Linked DNA regions of Homo sapiens: region 1 is linked to region 2. The links are contacts of gene promoters, found by promoter capture Hi-C in blood cells and fetal thymus (Javierre and others, 2016). All regions are on one chromosome and are shown on one strand. Each heading gives the region's core, a stretch centred on a gene start or on the middle of the fragment in contact. The rest is flanking DNA. Distances are from core to core; before and after follow the strand shown.

The links. The method cuts DNA at HindIII sites, captures the fragments that hold promoters and counts their contacts. A CHiCAGO score of 5 or more calls a contact.
Region 1: a contact is called between a fragment that was not itself captured here and the fragment with the promoter of SLC18A2 in region 2, in 1 of 17 cell types (neutrophils). The highest score is 10.2, in neutrophils.

Annotation. Positions count from the first base shown.
Region 1 is chr10:117,349,259-117,354,030 of GRCh38, reverse strand. All of the region lies in intron 1 of PDZD8 (PDZ domain containing 8), which reads left to right. Among named protein-coding and RNA genes, the nearest start is that of PDZD8, 24 kb to the left of the region's middle. The HindIII fragment of the contact is 5,284 bases long and covers 1-4,065 here.
Region 2 is chr10:117,238,352-117,243,388 of GRCh38, reverse strand. SLC18A2 (solute carrier family 18 member A2) reads right to left here and starts at 2,275. Exons shown (of 16, transcript NM_003054.6): 1 at 2,169-2,275; 2 at 1,575-1,710. The coding sequence starts at 1,695. It overlaps SLC18A2-AS1 (SLC18A2 antisense RNA 1), which reads left to right and starts at 1,392. Exons shown (of 3, transcript NR_184310.1): 1 at 1,392-1,504; 2 at 1,606-1,728; 3 at 3,208-4,624. The HindIII fragment of the contact is 8,499 bases long and covers 1-5,037 here.

The sequences.
Region 1 (4,772 bases), core at 174-2,673, 110 kb before region 2:
GAAATTGGTGGTGCCAGTAAGAGAAAGCAGGAGAGAAGGGCGCAAGTTTGAAGAAAGGGTGTTTAACTCATTTTTAGGTACCAATGTATGAACTGTGATAAAAGCAGTGACAGCAAGTGATGTTGCTCAGGGAAGTTAGAGAAAGGAAACAGGAAGACAGAAACCACATTGTTTTAGTATACAGAACAATTTTTCTAATTCTCCATTTTGGAATACTTCACTTAAAAGTCAAGAAAATAGTTCAGTAAATGCCACTCCCCGCCCCCTCACCCCCCTCCCTCATCTTGCTTTGTCTGTAGCCAGTAATTAACTTAGGGCCACTCTTGTTCATCTTGCCACACACCCCTCCCCCGATTATTTTGAACAAAATTTATGTATAACATCAATATGTCTTTTTTTAAAAAAGTATAATCCCACTATCAAACCTTTAAAAAGTAATAATTCTTTAGCATCTAGCTTAGGATCATTTTTTTATATCCCCAAATTAGAAAACATCAAGGTGTAGATTCTCAGAAATGACTTTCATAGTGTTCCTTATAATAAACTAGCATGGATTTTTATTAGAACAGAGAGAGATTCGTTGATCTTTTAATCACGTGGACTTGTTTACCCCTTCCTTCTGAAATATTGTGACTAATATGGGTCTTTCTTGGAGGACTGGAATAATTCGAGAAAGTTTGAGAGCCATCAAACTGCACTGGGAAGGTCATTACCATTATTATTGATTTCCACTCCCTCTAGGACTCCAAGTCAGTATTAATAGAATTGCTGAACAATTTTATTGAGTTCTTTATATTTTACTCAGCATCATAACCTAGACAAAATAGTTTGGAAGACAAGAGGTACTGTTTTAGATATCTAAAGTAAATTTAATAGAGAGCCCATGATTGACACTAGAATTTACTTTCTGTAAACCATTAAAAGTGAGATACTGTGACTTTATAGAAATTATACAGCTTTATAATGCAGATTAGGAAATGTGTTTTAGTAAAAGTGGCATTGTATTAGGACTTATTACAACCCCACTCCTGTGGCTCCACCCAGAAGCAATTTGGCGCACAGGAGGACAGCTTCAGCCCCCTATGAGTTCATCTCTGCCCCAACCAATCAGCAGCAAGCCCCTGTTAGCTGGCCACCCCACTCCTTTCCCCAAACTGCCTTTGAAAAACCCTTCCCCTACGAGCTTTGAATGAAGTGATTTGAGTACAAATTTTATCTCCCCTGTGGTGTGGCCAGCCTTGTGTCTATTAAACTCTTCCTCTATGACAATGCCACCATGGTCTGTCTTTATGCTGTGGGCAGGAAGAACCCCTCAGGTGGTTACAATACCTTGTAGTTTAAGAGATGCTGGCATATGAATTAGTTTTACTTCACCCTCTCATAGGTAACAAAAAGCATGGATTATTCCCCTCCTCCCTTTTTGAACAAGAAATTGAAGTTTAAGGAGATAAAAGGCTTTTCCAATATCACCTGCTTTATCAGTGATGAAGTTGGGACAACAATCTATATGTATATATGATTCTAAGTTTTGTGTTCCTTTGTCTTCTTTTTTGTGTTCTTTTTTGTCTCCTTGACAAATCCTCATCTAACCTTTGCCTAAATATTTCTAGAGATAGAGGCTTGCTACTACATACTGAGAAAGCCATGTCCTTTTTTCACTAGCTCTAATTGTCACAAAGTTTTCTCGTATTGATCTGAAAACTCTAGCAGATTTATCACTTGAGCAAGAACATGAACGCTCAACTGCAGTTAACAGTAGATCTAGACCTCTGCATATTTTTACATTGGGTTGTAGTAAAACCTTTCTCTCTAAAGATCCCAGTGTTTGCAAACAGTTTTACTGCTGCCATGTGATGGAGATGTCACCAGCTGGTATTCAGCATGCTTATAGGGCAAACTTGAAGAGACATCTTAAAGTAAGACATATTTTAGATGTTACAAAAGGTTCTGTCAGATCTACACAGGAGAAGAAGGCTTGGCTTCTCTTGTAAGTATAAATTTAAATATGTATTTTAAGTGTTAGTAAAATAATGCACATTTAAAAATTAAACACGCCAAGTATAGTGGCTCACTCCTAGAATCCCAACACTTTGGGAGGCCGAAGCAGGAGGATTGCTTGGACCCAGGAATTCAAGACCAGCCTGAGCAATATAGCAAGACCTCACCTCTACAAAAAATAACTGGGTGTGGTAGCCTGCATCTGTAGTGCCAGCTACTTGGGATGCTGAGGCAGAAGGATTGCTTGAGTCCAGGAGGTCAAGGCTGTAGTGAGCCATGATCACACCACTGCATTCCAGCCTGGGCAACAGAGTAAGACCCTGTCTTCAAAAAAAGAAAAAAACATGTTTTTTCTTTAAATTTTTATTAAAATATAACTCACCACCTGAAAAGTGTACTAATCAGAAAATTCAGCTCCATGAATGTCTACAAAGTGAACAAACTCATGAAATCAGCATTCAAAACAAGCAACAGAGTGTTACCAGCAACCAAGAAGCTCCTCATATGCTACCTAGTCACTACCTTCCTCTCCTCTGCCTTAAAGTAACTACTATCCTGACTTCTAACACTATTTTTAGATTTTTTTGTGTTTGTTTTTTGCCTGATTTTGAACTTTGTATAAATTGAATCATACTGTATGTACTCATTTTTGTTGTCTTTAGCTCAAGAGTAGTTTGTGAGATTAATCCATGTTGTTGCATATAGATGTAGTTTGTTCATTATATTTGCTGTGGAGTATTCCACTGTGTGAATGTACTTCAGTCTGTCCATTTTTGTTGATGGGTAGTGTTGTTATGAATATTCTTATATATGCCTTTTGGTGAACATTTGTGCACATTTCTCTTGGGTATATCGAGGAGTAGGATTGCAGAGTCATAGGGTGGATCTCTACTGGCTTCGTAGATATTACTACAATTTTCAAAGTAGTTTTAATAGTCGAAACCAGCAGTTTCACATCCTCTCCAACATTTGGCATTGTTTGTTCTTTCATTTTACTTAATGCATGTAACTTAAAAATCAAAACAGAAGAACTTATGATGAAAATCAGCAATTGCCTCCCTAAACCCTTTACTTTCCTGCCCTAAGCTAGACTGTTCAGAAGCAATCATTTGTAACTATATATTTCTTTTTTTTTTTTTTTCACTTTGTCACCCAGGCTGGAGTGCAGTGGTGCAATCTCTGCTTACTGCAAGCTCTGCCTCCCAGGTTCATGCCATTCTCCTGCCTCAGCCTCCTGAGTAGCAGGGACTCCAGGCACCTGCCACCACACCCAGCTAATTTTTTTGTATTTTTAGTAGAGACGGGGTTTCACCATGTTAGCCAGGATGGTCTCGATCTCCTGACTTTGTGATCCGCCTGCCTCGGCCTCCCAAAGTGCTGGGATTACAGGCGTGAGCCACCGCGCCCGGCCTATGTATTTCTATTTTTAACAACTTTTAAGAGGCATTGATGAAGAGCACAGATTCTGGGGCCAAGCGTGGTGGCTCCCACCTGTAATCCTAGCACTTTGGGAGGCCGAAGCAGGTGGATCATGAGGTCAGGAGTTCGAGACCAGCCTGGCCTACACAGTGAAACCTCGTCTCTACTAAAAATACAAAAATTAACCGAACGTGGTAGTGGGCACCCTGTAATCCCAGCTACTTGGGAGGCTGAGGCAGGAGAATAGCTTGAATCCGGGAGGCAGAAGTTGCAGTGAGCTAAGATCATGCCATTGCACTCCAGCCTGGGACAGAGCAAGACTCCGTCTCAAAAAAAAAAAAAAAAGAAACAAACAAACAAAAAAAACAGATTCTGGAGCTAGACTACCTAGATTCTTATTTTGGTTCTACCACTTACTAGCTGTGTATCCCTGAGCAAGTTACTTAACCTCTCTGTGTCTTAGTTCCCTCATCTGCAAAATGGGGCTGATTATAGTACCTATCTCAAAGAATTGTTTTGGGAATTAAGTTAATTAATATAATGCCTTTCACATGCTAAGTATGTAATAAGTGTTAGCTATACTAATAATAGTGGTGTTACCTCTGTATTACTAAACAGTGTCATATAGCTATCCTTGAGTCAGAAGCTTTAGACAGTGACTATTAATTGGCTTCAGAAGATAAAAGATTTCACTAAGTAATATCCTCTCACCTTCTCTTTTGCCTTTTTTGATATAGTTATATTAACTATTTTCCATTCATTCACTGAACTACATCTTTATTTATTTTTATTTTTTTATTTTTTTATTTTTGAGAGTGGGTCTTACTCTGTCACCCAGGCTGAAGTGCGGTGTTGTGATCTCAGCTCACTGCAGCCTCGATCTCCCAGGCTCAAATGATCCTCCTGCCCCAGCCTCCAGTGTAGCTGGAACTACAGGAGCGCACCACCATGCCCAGCTGGTTTTTGTATTTTTTGTAGAAATGGGGTGTGGCTATGTTGCCCAGGCTGGTCACGAGCTCCTGAGCTCAAGCAGGTCGCCTGCCTCAGCCTCCCAAAGTGTTGGGATTACAGGCATGAGCCACCACACCTGGCCATCCTTATTTTTATATAATTGATAACATGTTCTGTTCATAGTTAGTCTTCCTTGGTCTGTGTTTTTACATTATTATGTCTATGTAAGTACTGTTTATTACAGAACTGTCTAATATGCAGATTTATGTTTCCTTCTCTATATTCCAGTTTCGTTACCTTGGTGCCATTCAAAGCAATATTTTTTTCTCTTATCAAATTGCCTTACTCAGATTTTCAGAGTATTCCTTTCCCTTCTCATTCCTTCTGCCTCTCCTATTTATTTC
Region 2 (5,037 bases), core at 1,026-3,525:
ACTGACTGGTCCCAGAGATTCTGTCATTTGTGGGTTTCTTCCACATTGTTCCTTCAAGGAATATTTCAGAAAAGCAAAATGTGGCCTGACGTTAAGAGAGTGCTGACCTGGAGTCAACCAGTGCTTCTAAGAAAGAGAGGCTCAAAAGACTTTCAAATGAATGAATCAAGGAAACAGAAAACTACACTTCATTATGTGTCTTAGAAAAAAATTAACCTGCAGGAAGTAATAACTTGGAAATTCTGCAACAGGCCCACTTCATCCTTCTATTATGAGTGGGAATCTGTAATTTTTCCTACAACTTGTAAGATTTAAGAATTCCTAAGGCTTTCACAAGGAAAAAGCAAAACTGAAACAGGCCAGGCACGGTGGCTCAGGCCTGTAATCCCAGCATTTTGGGAGGTCGAGGCGGGTAGATCACCTGAGGTCAGGAGTTCAAGACCAGCCTGGCCAACATGGCAAAATCCTGTCTCTAATAAAAATACAAAAATTAGCCAGCTTTGGTGGGGCATGCCGGTAACCCAGCTACTCGGGAGGCTAATGCAGGAGAATCACTTGAACCCGGGAGGTGGAGGTTGCAGTGAGCCAAGACTGTGCCACTGCCCTCCAGCCTGGGCAACAGAGTGAGACTCCATTTCAAAAAAACAAACAAAAACCAAAATAAAAAGCAACAACAAAAAATACAAATTAAATTGTGAAACATATAATCGAAGCTGTGAGCACATGTGTCCAATGGAGCATTCGAGCCGAAGCAGAACTAATGCCGTTGGTACTGAACAGGGATGAGCTCCACGGCTCTGATAACTCCTCGAGATGAAACCTATCAGATGCTCTGAAAACTGCTGTGAGAAAACCTGCAAATGGAGAGAAAGGAAACAGCTCCCACCACTTACAGTCTAAATGAGTCGTGATTTTTTTTTCATTCATTAAAAACTGGGATTTTTTTTTTTAAGGAAATGCATGCCAAATACTTCTCTGTTAATGGGCCTAATTAAGGGACCTGGATTTCGATTATTTAATTTTTCAAAATTCCACTATAGGAAAAATAATAGAACCAAGATTGTTCAAATTGTTCTTGCAATGGTTCCTGAAATATTTCCATCTCAAGTCATTCACTAATACAGTATATCTAAATGTCTTGTTTTTGGAGTAAGGGATCGAAACTTGCTCTTTTAGGTACTACACCAAATTACTAACCTGCCTTTTCGAGTAGCCCAATAATTATTCTAACACGTAATTTTGAACTTTAGGAATTTCTCTTTTGGAACAGAAATCTTTTTCATCGCAGTGAAAGCAGGCAAGAGGATGCGGGAAATTATCAGGGGGAAACATAAGTTCTGGGTCTTATCGGATGTCACAGTTTTTGACCCGAGCATCAGGAAAGCGAAGCCACACAACGCGGCTCCTCCTAGCCCCGGCGCGGCAGCCTGGAGGGGATGTCTTTTTTGCAAAGCGAGTTCTCCAACTTTCCCGGGCCTTGGCGGAGCTCCGGGACCGCGCAGGGGTAAGTGGAGTGCCGGGGAAGGGGCGCTGGGGCTGGGGTGCCGGGGCAGGGGTGCCCTGTCCGCACGTACCCACGACAGTGAGCAGCATGTTGTCCAGCAGCAGCGCCAGGAACACGATGAACAGGATGAGCTTCCGCGAGCGGCGGCTCTCCTGCAGCCAGCGGACCAGCGCCAGCTCGCTCAGGGCCATGGCTCCGGGGCTCCGCTGCGGGCGCGGTGCGCGGTGAGGACCCAAGGCGGCCGTGGACCCCCCATTCTCCCGTCCCCCAGGCCGCGGAAGGGCGGGTCAGGGAGCCGCGCGCACCGGCATCCGGGGACACCCCCGGGCGCCCCAGCCTCGGCTCACCTGCCTCGAGCGCGTCCCCACGAGAGCCCGCGCTCCCTGGAAAGAGCGCCCGCGAGCGCCGTCGGGGACCCAATCTGGAGACCCAACCTAGAACCCCCAGGACGCTGCCCTGATCCCCGCCGCCCCCAACTGTGCCACCTCCCAAACTGCACGCTCGGCCCCGTGCACCTTGCGCCCTGCGCCCTGCGCCCCGGCTGCCCCGGGGTCCCCGCAGCCCCGCCCGCGTAGCTCTGGGGGCCTCCCTGCCTCCCTGCCTCCCCCGGGCCCGCTCCCCTCCGGCACCGCGCCCTGCGAGCAGGGAACCGGGGCCGTGTTACCTCGGGGTCGCTTGCGATGCCTGCCCGGGTCCTCCGTGCCCGCGCCAACGCCCGCACCGCAGTGGGCTCCGTCAGTCCGGGCGGCTCCGGGTCGCAGTCTCCGCCCCAGCGCCCCGCCGCCGCCGCTCAGTTTACCCCGTCCGGCTCTGACGTCACGGCCGGAGGGAGCGGGGGCGGGGGGCTGGGGCGCCCCGGCCTCCGCCCGCCCGCGCCGTCGCTGCGCAGGAGGGGCTGCCGCCTCCCTGTCCCCGCCTCGGCCGCGGCCGCGCCTCTTCCCCGGACCCAGCGCGTGGCCGAGTGCCTTGGGGACCCAGGCCTGGGGAAGAGGCAGGGGCGCAGAGGGAAAGAGGTCAGAGAGCCTGGACGAAGAGTGAAGGGCCAGGGACCAAGGCGAGGAGGCACGGACCAGGGCTTTCTTGTGGCTCCAAGTGGTGGCTCGAGCTGCTTTGAATAAATCACGTGGCTCTTTGAGCCTCAGTGTCCCTGAAATGGGCCGTGAGGACGGGAATGATGGCCGCGGGGTGAGATCGCCAGGGGTGACAGGTGCTGGGAGCCAGGGACAGGCTTCCCTTTCCTGAAGAAGCCACCCTTTGCACCCACCATCCCCTCCCCTCTCCGACCTCTGCAGCCCGATGCGGGGTGCCACTCGGAGGAGCCTTTGAGCCTTGGGCATCCTCAAGCTGGTGACTTGGAAACGGGGGGGGGAAGGGGACACTTTTCAGTGTCGCCCTATGGTGGGAGTTGGGGAGGTGAGGGTCCCAGGTCTCAGAAAGTGGGAGCAGTGGGTTTGGGCCTCTGGGGCCACCTGAGCAGGGGACCCTGGAGGCTAGGTGAGTACACCTGGCCTCAGAGAAAGGGCTAGGGGGCGGGCTGTGGGCGGGGCAGCAGGCCTAGGCCCTGTGTCCTGTACTCTCTCCCCACCATGCTGTGCCTGGGCGTCTGGGTGAGAGGTGGTTCCTAGAGCCAGGGGCCTGCGTGTGGCTGGTGCAGAGCTGTCATCCTCACTGCTAAGGGCTAAGAGCCTGCCTTTGATTTCCAGGTCCCTTTTATAAGCAAAGGAGAAACAAACAGATGCCCTCTGACATCGCTGGAGCTCTGCAGGCCCTCCGAGGGGACCGTGGGAGCAAGAGCTGTTTTCTTGAAAAGCTACCTAGAATAAATGTTACCCTGTCACAGTCTCTTAGCAGAAGAGTGGGCTTGTTTTATTAATGTTAGCTTGTTGACAGCAGGAGGCCACTGAGAACAGCAGTGTGATGTGTGGCTGCCCCCGCTCTCTCCACCTCCCTACTCCCTTGCAGAGACCCCCTGTGCTTCTCATTGCTACCCCATGTGTGAGAAGAGATGGTTGAATAGGTAAGTAGGTCAGGAACATGGGTCTCCAGGATGTCACAGGATGTGCACAACTTAAACATTAAACAGGGAGGACAGAAGGAAAACCACTTAGGAGGAGGAAGCAGATGGCAGAGAGCCGTTTAAGATGGCAGGAGGGTATCACTCAGGGAGTGCCCCAGAGTGCTTGCTCTGGAGTTTCAGAACCCAAGGATGCAGACTCTACCCCAGGGACCACATGGGGACAGAGAGGCATTATGGTAAAGGGTGCCTGCCAGGATGCCCAGGTCCCAGTCTGCTACTTCCTTGACTGGTGGCCTTGGGCTGGTTATGTATCCTCTTTGTGGCTTAGTTTCGCCATCTCTGGAATGGGGATACTCACTGGACCTACTGCAGCGTGGTTGTGAGAATTCCAGGGGAATGCATAGGCAGCTCTTAGCACAGTGCCTGGCACAAAGTGAGAGCTCCGTAAGTGCCGGCCCCTCATTCATGCGCTGAATATGTGTTGAGCTCTTACTACGTGCCAGGCACTATGGTTAATGCTGGGGAGACAGTAAAGCCTAGACAAATCCCTGCTGACATTCTGACCTGATAGCAGCATCATAGCAGTGAACACTGGAAGCCACACCAAACTCCAGCCCAGCCAGCTGGATGTAGATGGCTCCAGGGACAATGCCAGCCCGGCGTTCCCGCCTCCGGATCACTGTCACCACCCCTAGAGCACTATGGCCTATAACAGACTTTTTGTTGAAACCCCCTAAAAAATGTTTAACAATATGTTTGCCTTACACATTTTCAAGTTGGCATCTAAAATGAGTTTTTTAATCATATATTTAAATAGGGTATATTGTATTTATTGACCTTTATGTATAAAATTATTATCTCTCTCTTTTAAATATACCCAAAGGAATTTGTATAAGAATACAAAACTGCCATGTTATACTTAAGAATATAAACAAGTATCCCTTTAACAGTCAAAATATTTACATTGTGTTCTTTACCCCTTTTAAGTATGTTTCCATTCCGTTTTCCAACAGAATTGTATCCTACCCTAATGCTTTTATTGTTTAAATTCTGTATTCATCACCTATCTATTATGTGAACCACAATAAATATGTGAATATGCATTAGCTTTTTAAAATTTTCTACACGTGGACATAAAGATGGCAACAACAGACCCTGGTGGGGACTACTAAAGGGGAAAGGGAGGGAGGGGGGAAAAGGTTGAAAAACTAACTCTTGGGTACTATGCTCACTACCAGGGGGACAGGATCAGTCATACCCCACACCTCAACATCACTCAATATACCAGTGTAACAACCCTGCACATGTACCCCCTGAATCCAAAACAAAAGTTGAAAGTATAAAAAAAAGTTTAGGCACAGTGACTCATGCCTGTAATCCCAGCATTTTGGTAGGCTGAGGTGGGAGGATCTCTTGAGGCCAGGAGTTTGAGACCAGCCTGGGCAAGATAGTGAGACCCTCTACAAAAAAGTTTAAAATTTAGTTGAGCATCGTGGTACACACGTGGGGTCCCAGT